Linked DNA regions of Homo sapiens: all the other regions are linked to region 1. The links are contacts of gene promoters, found by promoter capture Hi-C in blood cells and fetal thymus (Javierre and others, 2016). All regions are on one chromosome and are shown on one strand. The core of a region is centred on a gene start or on the middle of the fragment in contact, and the rest is flanking DNA. Distances in the headings are between cores, read along the strand shown. Region 1 holds the start of RABEPK (Rab9 effector protein with kelch motifs). Region 2 overlaps NR6A1 (nuclear receptor subfamily 6 group A member 1). Region 3 overlaps GOLGA1 (golgin A1).

What was found. Contacts are between HindIII fragments. The CHiCAGO score rates a contact against its expected background, and 5 or more counts as called.
Region 2: a fragment that was not itself captured here is called in contact with the fragment with the promoter of RABEPK in region 1 in 1 of 17 cell types (naive CD8 T cells); the score reaches 5.8 in naive CD8 T cells.
Region 3: a contact is called between a fragment that was not itself captured here and the fragment with the promoter of RABEPK in region 1, in 11 of 17 cell types (M2 macrophages, total CD4 T cells, naive CD8 T cells and 8 more). The highest score is 9.7, in M2 macrophages.

The regions. Positions count from the first base shown.
Region 1 is chr9:125,198,557-125,202,864 of GRCh38, forward strand. It overlaps RABEPK (Rab9 effector protein with kelch motifs), which reads left to right and starts at 1,986. Exons shown (of 8, transcript NM_005833.4): 1 at 1,986-2,350. It overlaps LOC105376271 (a long non-coding RNA gene), which reads right to left and starts at 1,840. Exons shown (of 2, transcript NR_135145.1): 1 at 1,670-1,840; 2 at 977-1,099. RefSeq lists a silencer at 1,864-1,913. The HindIII fragment of the contact is 9,581 bases long and covers 1-4,308 here.
Region 2 is chr9:124,764,935-124,769,242 of GRCh38, forward strand. The region is part of intron 1 of NR6A1 (nuclear receptor subfamily 6 group A member 1); the gene reads right to left. It overlaps LOC124900274 (a long non-coding RNA gene), which reads right to left. Exons shown (of 2, transcript XR_007061773.1): 1 at 1-4,308. Among named protein-coding and RNA genes, the nearest start is that of NR6A1, 4.2 kb to the right of the region's middle. The HindIII fragment of the contact is 2,845 bases long and covers 840-3,684 here.
Region 3 is chr9:124,927,778-124,932,085 of GRCh38, forward strand. It overlaps GOLGA1 (golgin A1), which reads right to left. Exons shown (of 23, transcript NM_002077.4): 4 at 3,539-3,629; 5 at 1,439-1,513; 6 at 411-508. Among named protein-coding and RNA genes, the nearest start is that of GOLGA1, 11 kb to the right of the region's middle. The HindIII fragment of the contact is 1,446 bases long and covers 1,468-2,913 here.

The DNA.
Region 1 (4,308 bases), core at 736-3,235:
CAAGCAATTCTCCTGCCTCAGCCTCCCGAGTAGCTGGGACTATAGGTGCGCATCACCGTGCCTGGCTAATTTTTGTATTTTTAGTAGAGATGGGGTTTCACTATGTTGGCCAGGCTGGTCTTGAACTCCTGACCTCGTGATCTGCCCTCCTTGGCCTCCCATAGTGCTGGGATTACAGGCATGAGCCACCACACCCAGCCTGGAGCTTGGATTTTAACCCAAGTATGTTTGATCTCTTCCCACTAAGCTACCATAGCTCTATACTCCAGGAGCTCCTGTTTCTAACCTGAGCTGTTTTCTCTATTTTCTAGGACACAGCGACAGTTTCAGAGACTGGAGTTCTTTGAAACAGACATAAGAGAGCAAGCCACCTCTCTATTTTCAGGAAAGACACAGAGAACCTATGGTTATGAACTAAAACAAAGATAATGTAGATTCTGAATATGTCTAGAGACATTGTTCATTTATAGTCAGGAATAGCTTTACCCTTGACAGAGAACTCTGTGCCAGCTGCTGGGTGCTGAGCACTTTTATTTACATTATGTCATGTATTCCCCACCACAACTACTACATACATCTCTCTTTTTTTTTTTTTTTTCTTGAGACGGAGTCTGGCTCTGTCACCCAGGCTGGAGTGCAGTGGCACTATCTCGGCTCACTGCAACCTCCGCCTCCCAGATTCAAGCAATTTTCCTGCCTCAGCCTCCTGAGTAGCAGGGATTACAGGCGCCCACCACCACGCCTAGCTAATTTTTGTGTTTTTAGTTGGGGGGGGGGGCGGGGGCGTTCACCATGTAGGCCAGGCTGGTCTCGAACTCCTGACCTCGTGATCCGCCCGCCTCGGCCTCCCAAAGTGCTGGACTTATAGGCGTGAGCCACCGCGCCCAGCCTATGATAGAAATCTTATTAGCTCCATGGTTACAAACAGACAACCCTGAGGCCTGGAGGAAAGTAACTTCAGAACAGATACTCTCCTGGCTGAACTTTATATTTATTGCACTCTTGGCAGTCGTCCCTAGTTGTCTTTTTCTTTGATCTCTCTCTAGTTAAGACTTGCTCCTGGAGGCAAAGCGTGGTGGTGTCTGGCTCAGCATAGCACCTGCCATAATTACAAATGGCAATTATGGAATGAATCAGCTGTTTAAAGCACCAAATCTTGAGCTGGCCCGAAGACTGCGCAGGAGGATTGCATGCTCAACTCTCCCCTTTAGAAACTGTTAACAATCGTTGTGGCCGGGCGCGGTGGCTCACGCCTGTAATCCCAGCACTTTGGGAGGCCGAGGCGGGTGGATCATGAGGTCAGGAGATCGAGACCATCCTGGCTAACAAGGTGAAACCCCGTCTCTACTAAAAATACAAAAAAAATTAGCCGGGCGCGGTGGCGGGCGCCTGTAGTCCCAGCTACTCGGGAGGCTGAGGCAGGAGAATGGCGTGAACCCGGGAAGCGGAGCTTGCAGTGAGCCGAGATTGCGCCACTGCAGTCCGCAGTCCCGCCTGGGCGACAGAGCGAGACTCCGTCTCAAAAAAAAAAAAAAAAAACAATCGTTGTAACTGGAAATGTAACTGTTATACCCTCCCCCCCTTTTATTTATTTATTTTTTTGAGAGGGAGTTTTTGCGCTGTTGCCCAAGCTGGAGTGTGGTGGCGCCCAGCCCTGTTAGCCCCTTACAGAGTAGATCAGCTGCCGCAGGCATCTGAGTTCCCCAAACGGACGCCCGAACCCGGCATTGCGCAAATCGTTTCCAAGTAGCCCCGGCTTATTTATCCCGTCCGGGAGGGAGGGACCCAGGGAAGGCCCACCCCACTTGGTTCCCGAGAAATGCAGAGCCTGGCGTCCACTCCCGGTCTGGGGGACCCCTCCACCGCCAGCCCAGGAAGTCAGCGCCGGGCCCTCGGGGCGGAGCAGGGAAGAGGGAGCGGTTGGCCCGGACGCTCTTCCGGGTCCTGGGAGGAGGGCCCGGACCTAAGCCCCGCCCCTCCGGGGTGGAGTCACGGCTCGCGACTGGCCTAAGTCGCCGCAGGTATTGCAGTCCGGGGCTGGAGGGTAGGGGCGAGGGTCCCCGGATACCGGGTCTATCACGGTCTCGGGCAGGGAGTCTGAATCTTTTAGGGGAGTGGGCCCAAGCCGGGTGCAAAGAACGGGGAAGGGCCTTCCCTGGCTCCGTCCCGGCCACTTTGACCGAATCAGCCTGTTCTTTCCCGACCCCGTCTCCTATCCCCTAGAACTGCCACGTGGGGATGAGATTTGCTGGGCTGGTAGCGGCGGCTGCTGCGGGAGGTCCCGCCCACGTGAAGCCAGCCTAACTGAGCTCTGGACTTTGGGGACAGCTGTCAGTGGCCTAGGCCGCAGGTGAGATTTATCCATTCATCTCTCAATCTATTTTCTTTCTTCATTCACTAGCCACTCCCCCACTTCTACTCCATGCCAGGTCCATTGGTAGGTTCTCGGAATGGATCTGACAGGCCCAGCCCTCTAGGAACTTAGTCTAGTGGAATTTAATCTAGAATCTAGTCTAGAAGCCTTAAATAGATAAACATTCCAAATGATTCCTGCAATGGTGATGGCTAATACCTTCAGAGCCCAGTGGGTGGAAGAAGGAAGTAACTTGGATGTGGGTGGAAGAGAAAAGGGCAAATCAGGGAAGGTTTCACCAGGGAAGGGACTTTTGAACTGGGCTTTGAAGGTTAACTAGGAGTTTGCAAATTTCCCAGAAGGGAAGCGACATTCCAAATAGGGGAAGCAGAACAGGCTGCAAAATTATGAAAAGGCCTGCCATATTACAAGAACAGCAAAAAAACCAATAATGCAAGAGATTGTGGAGGTGAGTTCACGGGAAAAAAGCTCAACAGCAGAAGGCCTTACTTTCTATGCTATGTTGAGGCCAAGATTTATCCCAGAGCTCAGTATTTCTCAGCTTCTTTAAATATTTTGTCCTTTGAGCGGAGAGCAGTGGCTCACACCTGTAATCCCAGCTTTTTAGGAGGCTGAGGTGGAAGAATTGCCTGAGGCTAGGAGTTCGAGACCAGCCTGGACAACAAAGCGAAACCTCCATTTCTATTTTTTTTTCTTTTTTTGAGGAGGAGTCTTGCTCTGTCGCCAGGCTGGAGTGCAAGTGGCGCAATTTCGGCTCACTGCAACCTCCGCCTCTTGGGTTCAAGCAATTCTCACGCCTCAGCCTCCTGAGTAGCTGGGACTACAGGCGTGGGCCACAACGCCCAGCTAATTTTTTTTGTATTTTTAGTAAAGACAGGGTTTCACCATGTTGGCCAGGATGGTATCGATCTGACCTCATGATCCGCCTGCCTCGGCCTCCCAAAGTGCTGGGATTACAGGCGTGAGCCACTGCTCCCAGCCCCGTTTCTATTTTTAATTAAAAAATAAATAAATGGCCGGGCTCAGTGGCTCACGCCTGTAATCCCAGCACTTTGGGAGGCCGAGGCGAGCCAAGTTCAAGACCAGCCTGGCGAACATAGTGAAACCCCATCCCTACGAAAAATACAAAAAAAATTAGCCAGGTGTGGTGGCACTTGCCTGTAGTCCCAGCTTACTCTGGAGGCTGAGGCAGGAGAATAGCTTGAACCCGGGAGGCAGAGGTTGCAGTGAGCTGAGATCCTGCCACTGCACTCCAGCCTGGGTGACAGAGTGAGACTCCATCTCAGAAAAAATAAAAATAAAAAATAAAGCCAGGCACGGTGGCTCATGCCTGTAATCCCAGCACTTTGGGAGGCTGAGGCGGGCAAATCACCTGAGGTCAGGAGTTAGTGACCAGCCTGGCCAGTGTGGTAAAACCCCGTCTCTACTAGAAAAGCTAGAAAAATGAGCTGGGCGTGGGTGGGCACCTGTAATCTCAGCTACTCAGGAGGCTGAGAAAGGAGAATCATTTAAACCTGGGAGGGGAAGGTTGCAGTGAGTGGAGATTGCACCACTGCACTCCAACCTGTGCAACAGAGTGAGACTCTATCTAAAAATAATAATAAAGATAAATACATAGGCCAGGCACGGTGGCTCACACCTGTAATCCCAGCACTTTGGGAGGCTGAGGCGGGTGGATCAGCTGAGGTCAGGAGTTCGAGACCAGCCTGACCAACATGGTGAAACTCCATCTCTACTAAAAATAGAAAAATTAGCTGGGCGTAGTGGCACATGCCTGTAATCCAAGCTACTCGGGAGGCTGAGGGAGGAGAATCGTTTGAACCTGGGAGGCAGAGGTTGCCATGAGCTGAGATCTTGCCATTGCACTCCAGCCTGGGCAACGAGAGCTAAACTCCATCTCAAATAAATAAATAAATAAATAAATAATAAAAATA
Region 2 (4,308 bases), core at 1,012-3,511, 430 kb before region 1:
CCATAGAACTGACACCAACTTAAAGGCAAGAATCAGTCCAGAAACAGAAAAATATACTGCTACTGCCATCTGTGGTTTATGCTTGAATAGCTTCTCTGGTGTAAACAAATTGAAGGGTGTAGAGTTTACAATTAGAATCCAAAGGCCTCATCATTTAAAGACACTTTTTTAAAGTTAATTCTTAATGTAACGAATTGTATGGTTTATTTAGTATAAGACGTAAGAATCCGTGATTCTGTATTTGAGATTATATAATGCTGATGGAGAAACCACAAACTACCCTGAATGAAAACTACTCCATTGCATAACTTTATTTGTCCCAAACACACACTCCTTAAAGAAACTCAGAACACTTGAAGCCCTCCTGTGAATTTATAATTAGAATCATTTCTCTTTTGAAATCGTGACTGTCAATATTAAAACAGCCCCCGAAATTTTTAAAGCAAAAAAATTTTAGGAAATCCAGGAATTTTCTATTTAGACGTAAGAATTTGGCCAGTTTGCTTCTGTCAAGATAAAAATTTGGGAGTTCAATTATTCCTATAATTTTTTTAAGAACAAAAATTCCAAAATGCAAATGAAGTTTCAAAGTAGGCTATTTTCACAACGTATTTTCTCTCAGTTTGCTTTCTCAAATGACAACCACTGTAGCTTGGGGATCAAAAGATTTGGTGCAGCTGGGGGTGGGGAAAAAAGCAATTCAGCTCCCCAGCAGCCGGCTGAGGAAATCCTGGTCCGCTCCCAAACTAAATCACTGTTAATTAGAATTACCGGGTTACACTAGTAAAGTCTTATTTAAATAACTGTAACCACTGAAAAAACTCTGGGTTTTTTTGAGAAGCTTTTCTACAAAGGCTGCTGTTTAATAGCAGGTAACAAAGAATGAAGAACGAAATACCGTAGGAAATGTTTTATTCTTTCAAATGATGCTCTCCTCTTTTTCCTGTGGCTATTTCTCCGCCATACTGAAAAACAGGTTAGACATCTCACAGTGGTTTTCTTCTGATTTTCTATTACTTACTAAGGGTGTTACAGTCTAACACCCTTGTCTTTTTCTTAAAGACAAGCCATGTTGGAAAACAATCAATGAACAAAAGACTGGGCTGGATTCTAGAAATACTGTATATCAAAGTTACATCTAGAGACGTTTTTTAAATTTAAGCTCAGCTGAATCTGAAACTTAAGCTCTAAAAAGCTCAATACCCAAGAAAGAATTACCTGCTCAGTACCAAACCACTTTCTTGCTCATTTTTAATAATTCTGGTATTTCTGAACCCTAGTTATCGAAGGCATCCATAAACCCTTAAGAAATTACCTGAGCCAGGAAAAAACTTTAATTAAAAAGTTAAGGTTGATCTTAATGCAGAAGTGTGAAAAACATTTTCCTTCACAACTTAATTGGTTTTGGAAATGCTCTCAAAGTATTACAAAGAGTTGGGTATATCAGATCACTACTTATGTGGGCAGATTAGATAGCTACCTTCTGTTAAAAACTGTTTCAAGCACATTTATTCTTTATTGAAATACAAGCGTGTTTATCTGTTGATTCAGAACTTTGATTTTTCTAATTCTGACCTTTTTCCCACATGACTAGAATCTGTTTTTACACATGAAATAAGGCACTTTTACTGTCCTACTTAAAAAAAACAGACTGACCCAACAATGTAAAATTTACTCTAAAACACATCTTCTCAAGTGTCACTTTCAACTTAATTATTATGCATGGAAAAATACTGAACAGAAAAGTGTCATTAATTTGGCTATAAATCAAAAATAAACTTAAGAAGCAAAGATTATGACCAGCCCCAAAGATCTCGATGAATTTGCTGACAATGAAGTCTCCTAATGTGGGAGAATCTATCCTGGCTTTATGCAATTCTTAAGCTAGAAGTTGCCATCTGAACACAATTCATTAACAAACCAATTTTTCAACATAACCAATAAATAATATCTACCCAATTATAAAAATGAAGTGGTAAATCTTCCCACTAACACAAATGAAACACAGCTCCAAGCTCCAAAACATGCAAGCATCATTAGCAATTTAAAGCCAACTTGCACAACAAACACTAGGGGTGGTATAAGAAACTTCCTCTACCAATGTTACAGCAACAGTTGGCATTTCTACCTACCATCCTCTACTATTCTAAAATGTGGTATTTTAATCTAAACTCTATTTTCCACCTTTGCCCCAAAACCCTAGGAAAAAAGTAGGGAATGAGAAACCAGAAAATTCTAAATAAAATATGGAAATGCATGATTTGGACATATTTTTGGAAATTTACCAGCAGTTATTTTTTTCATTAGCTCCCCATCCAACTCCCTTTCATGTACTAACACATGTGCCTTGCATACACCTTTTTGCTACGGAAGTCAGAATGAATTATAGATTAGGAATCATGTCATCATATTTTGGTTACATGAATCAGAACTGCTGAATGATTTGGTGGCTTGTACACTGGAGACTGTAAATGTGGTCATCTCCCACCTCAGCTATGCAAAATCACCAGTGAATTTGCTCACTGTCGCCTTTCTTCTACCCTAGCCGTCTTTGGAGGTCACAGAAGCTACAAAAAAAGAAAAAAAAAAAAAAAAGAAAAACCTGCGTGCTGTATGTACTAAGAAACAACAGTACTACAGCATGTTTTTGGTTTTGTTTTTTTCTAATGGGAGTAGGAAAAAATTCTGGGGCAACTCAGAATTAACTTAATTTTTTAAATCACAGAACTGAAAAGTTAAATCATCATGGGAAATATTTGCCAATTTATTTTCCAGCATAAACATTTGGACGGCATGGTTATAGCAGAAGAAAAAGGCACCGTGCTATTCAGTGAACTTCTCCCCATTTCCTCTAAAGTGTAATTACATAAAATATGCTTTTAATTACTTATAATGGCTTATAACCTTCCTTTGCCTTCCTTTGCTTTAAATATTTAAAAGTATATTCCCTCATTCTCTTAAAATGAACAAATGCAATATTCAGCATACACTTCCTCAAATCATTCATCTTCCTTTGAAATCCCAAAAGGGAGCAGTCCTCTATTACAACTAAATGAGTTCATGTTTGTTATGAAAACCTACAAGCAACAACTGAAAATAGCGCAGTCAGCACAGGGAATTCCTGGAAGGATGATGGTGCATCAAAAGGCTAGAAAGAAACTCTGTTCTGACAGAATAAAAACCATTCAAAGGACTGTAAATTCAGCATCAATGGTGTTTCCGGTAGGAAAACATTTCTAAAATGCCACCTCCAGTTTATTTCTTCATGACAGAGACCAAAAGACCCCCTATCTGTATAGTTGTCTCTTGAAAATAGTTCATATAAAATAGAAATCAGTCACTAGGAGTAAAAAACAGATAATTCATTTCTTTTCTACTCAGAACAAGCAGTTTCATATATTTTTGGAGAAAAATATTAATTAGGAAGCAAAAAAGAAAAAATGTGCCCATTGTTCCATAGGCAAACTTAAAAAAATTTTTGGCAATTCTTCTGTGAGCATGTTAACTTCATAAGTGCTAATGAACATAAATTGTAAAACATTGCACAATGCTAGTTTTTACACTGAAAAATATCCCACAACGGTCTAGCGTCTAGTGTATTTTAAGCCCATCAAGCTGCCAAAAGTTCCCATTGTATTTTCAGCAAAAAGAAAACATCTGTACCACTAACTTAGACTAATGTAAAGCTTTAAAGCCACCTTAGTCTAAATGGATTGCTCGATAACATTCTTTCAAATGGTTCTGACCAATTGAGGAAATGAGACTATGAATGGGAAATCTGATTAAGAGTTAAAATTACCATTGAGTTCTTTAAAATGTACTAATGAATAATTAATAACAAATGCAGTTCTTAGGTTTCTCTTACAACACTATTATTCTCAAGTAGAATTGAAAGCAATATTGCAGTAAATATTGAATTGCAGTAAAATCCGTCATCTACATTATATGCACAGGTGGGTACAGGAAGTATTCACACATAGGAAGGCATCACAGAAATATACACGCTAATATGGGATATAAGATAGGTTGGGGTTTGGATTCAAAAAAATCAGCATGGGAAAATTTAGATCAGGATTTACAACACTCACAAATTAATACCAAACCAAATCTCCACACAAACTAGCTTAAAAAGTCAAAGGCATTAAAGAAATCCTTTGTTCCTATTATACTGTCTCCTTCTACCCTAACTGGATTCCAGCTTCCCCCTTTGTGACACGGAATTTTATTGATCTCAAACATGTTCACATTCAGAAATTAGTTGCCAACGACAGCCCACGGAACGGCCAGCCACCTAGCCATCATACATCA
Region 3 (4,308 bases), core at 941-3,440, 270 kb before region 1:
TTGGAAGAACTCTGTATACTATGGATTATGACTAAGTTAATAACATCTTCTCCAGGATAAAAGGCAAATGTTTGGGGGTTAGACTTTCAGAGAGGTTTTTAGAGGGGAGAGACCTTTTCTCTTATTTTGGGGCCTGCCATCAGATTACAGATACACTATTTCCCTTCTCAATTTTATGAAACTACACAGATACAAGGAATGATACTCTCACATTCTGGACACATTTCATGATTAGAACTGTAAAGTTTCTTCACTTTACAAGAAAAGGCCAAAGAAAACCTTAACGAACTTTTAACATTTCTCTTCTCCTAGGCTATAAATATTTTCTATAGGTTATGTCATGATTTTTGAAATCACGTCACTAAGTGAAATCTTTCCACCAGTTCTGGGCAGTGCCACATATAAAATACCTGGTCCTTTCTGGCTAATGCCAAAGCCAGTCCTTCTGCCATTTTGGCTCTGTTGGCTTGGAATGTCTCATTCTGCTCTTGAAATTTCCGCATGGAAGCTGTTAACAAAGAGGCTCTATTTGAGATATGAAAACACTTCAGAAACAGCATGACAAATAGCCCATGTGATTACAACTGTCACCTAATGAAAAAGGCCAAAGTCACATAAGTGGATTGTGATACTAGGAAAAGCTGGATCCACCTCAACTTTCCAGAAGAATATTTTGGCCTTGGTAATAGACCACAGTTTTTGTTTGTTTCCTTATCGTTTTTGTTTTTTGTAATAGACAAGTATATATATTTACAAAGATGCCAAAAGGTAACTTTTTAAATGGTACAATGATAGAACACTGAGTTAGGTAGGTTGCCAGAAAACATCAAAGCTGATGCTAAGTGATGGCTACTACCACTTTATCAGAATTAAAAACAAAAAGAAAAATCAAAACAAACAAAAAACCTTTCTTTTACTTTATTTTCCTTAAAAGTTTTAGTACATATCAACAAAAAAAATAACTTTCTACTTCTACTAACATCTTTCTTGGATGGTACCCAAAGAATATATGATTGAGGGTAGACTACACAAAATGTATGATTTATTGCTGAGGGAGTGATGACAGGGATTTCTCCCAGTTACTCAACACAGCAGTAATGAAGCTGTGGTGAGAACCCATTTCCTAATCCAGACCTAAGGGATGGGTACTAGATTTTATTAAAACCTGAGGGTAGCCTAAATAAAGGGGTCAACTGGATAGAGACAAGCTGATACACATAATGACCTACTCCTAAGAGTCATGCCCATAAGCCAACATAAATAAAACTTGCATACTTATAAATATCATCCAAATGTTATATCAACCTGATTAAGAAGTACACTACTTATAAAATAAAGATTTGTGCTTTGAAGAAGGACAAACTTAACCATACACTATTGTTTCATTTCAAAAACTAAACCTTGAAAAGATTGAAAAAAGCAGGAAAAAAATACGTACAATCCTGGTGTTTTTCTAATGCAATTTCAAGCTTCTCTTTTATCTTCTGCAAGTTTCGGACCTGTTCAGCATAGTCTTGGGTGAGGAGGGTGACGCACATACCAGAAATGGACAAACATCAGGAAAGGAAGTTAATTAAACAAAAAAATGAATGGAAATGATGATGATTTTCTTAACCTGAAAACCATTCCTGTTAAGGAAAGCTAGACAGACAGCCTCCCATTAACAATGAACAACACAGGAAAACAAGTATAGTACAAACTATCCATGGTGTATAAATGGTGAGTACAAAAAGGCAAGTTTGTTTAGCCTTGATAGAAAAACAAGAATTAGGCTTAGCCTGGTGATCAGAAATGTCCTGCTATGAAAAACACAGATTTATCTCATGACTTAATTTCAAATCTCAGTTTCCACTTCCTTTTCCGGTCTTAGCAGTAGGATAGATCAAAGTGAACTCACTAAACAGCTCGCTTATAGTCCACACAACTCAGGAACAGTAGTTAGGGCAATAACAAACACCTTAGGTGCAGCATTGTCTTTATAGTGATAGCACTTAATTCTCTAAAAAAGTGAGCTCCCTTTCTACACAGGAACTTGGTAACCTACGCTACATTAAATGTGAATGTCAGAATTAATTATCTAGGTGGCCAAAGAAGATAGTTATGGTTTAGTGAAAACATAGTAGCTCAAATCCCAACTCTGTCAGTCCTTAGCTGGGGACCTTAAGCAAATTATTGGTCCTGTAGTATTAGTTTCTTCATATATTAAATGATGATATTAATTGTACCTACCACAAAAGATGCATTAGATAAAACATTTTACGTGCCTTAAGTGCTTTGCACACAGTGCTCAATAAAATGTAGCTCTTATTGTTACTGTGACTATTATCATTACTCATACTAATACTGTAGGACAATACTCACCACATAGTGGGCCCAGTAAATGTCAGTGCTCTTCCCTGTCCCTTCTCTAACGTAAGTCAAGCTCAACTATTCTTCCTACCATATGGGGAAGGTATATATATTATTTTATAACTCTCTCTCCAACATTAAACAAATGTAAAATTACTTTACCTCTGTTACTGATATTATTTATGGGTAGGAGTAACAGGATAGCAACAATTAAGTTTAAGGCAGATGGAATTAAGACTCTAGCATCAAATAAATCTGGGTTTGGATCCCAGCTCTACCACTTACTACTTGTGAGGCCTTAACCTTGCTAAGCCTAATAAGGCTCTAGTGAGGACAAAATAATTAACTGGTAGTTGTGAGCTATGCTATGAACCTTTGATAACTACATAAATACAAATACTTCACATACAATTTGGTGAATTTGGGTCTGATAGCTACACAAATATAAATATTTCACATACCACTTGGTGAACTTCGGTCTGCTGTTTTACTCCAATAAAATGGGCATTAAAAGGCCAAGGGACAAAAAGAGACACAGAAGCCATGAACCACTTTACAGGATGAAGCTTTCCAAATGTATCCACTGGCAGAAACCAAAATAATAACTCACAATTCTATCATGACCATGCCCTCCTCAGGCAAAGGATATAATGGGAGCTGTGTAAATTGTAAACTGCAGACAAAAGACATAATGAGAGTGACACCTTCTATGCAGGTGCTGAAGTCAGAAATACCATTGAAAAGTGGCCCAAAGACCTACAACAACACTTACACAGGTGGTATGAGCTGCAGGAAGTGGCAACACAGCACCAATCTCTGGTGCTGATGAATCCAATATCTGTTGGCCATTCCCTTTAAATACTAACGCCATCCCTTTCCACCTGAAAGCAGGCTATGCTAATGGTGGAAGATGGTCAAATCTATTGTACATATATTATTATTATCTTTTATTTCCATGGCTAGAAACCTCAGGAGCAGAAAAAATTTTTTAATAAACTTTCAAATTCAGTTTTGAATTTATACTATTTACTACACTAACAAAAGAAGAGGGTATACTTGCTCCTTTCTAAAAAGATCAAAATGATATGTGAAAATAACTATAAAGTCATCCTATATGGCTATTTTATAGGAAGAGAGTCAAGCAAGGCAAGTTTCCTGTTGTTTGCTTTTTATGAGTTCTTAGACATACCAGAAAGTCTGGCCTCTAACTTCCGTATCTGTTCATTCCTTCTCAGAAGCTGGGATGAAAGATCTTCTCTGGAGCTGCTTCCATCGGAAGCCTGTTGAGGTAGACACAAGGAAGGTCGTATTCATATATGTGTGAGACCACAATACTGAGCCAGAAAGTGACAAGTCTTATTTTAGGTTTGGTTACACTTTAATTAATTGTAATCACTGAAAAGCTGGGCCTAGTTTCTCTACCTGGAAAGTGGAAGCAACGCTTTCTTCCTCTTATAAAGTGAAGGAGAGAGGAGATGCTAAACAGATCAATTTTATGTGTACGCATGCTACTGAAATAAATAATAGTAAATAGATCCATTATTACAGCAAGTATATAATACAAAAACTATATTTGCCATGATAAAAAAATCACTTTATCTTTCCAAAAGTAAAGTCCTGGGATAAAGAAGGCGGGGGTTCTTTAGGGATCAAAAGCTGGTCTATGACTACGAATCTTTCACCGATATTGATAAAGTTTCAGTATCTTCATCTATGAAACAAACGGATATCAATCTAAAACTCTAACTTGCATCATAGACTTCAGCAGATAATATGCATTCAACAAACCAATATATTAATGAGGCATACATTTTTCCCCAACAAACCAGATTATTTTAAAATAAATGAATACTACTATTGCTATAGGCACTGCTTGCAATTGCTAATAACTCAGTTTTTAAAATCTCTTTTACTTTTCATTATACAATTTTTCAAAATATAGAAAGGGAGAGAGATTGG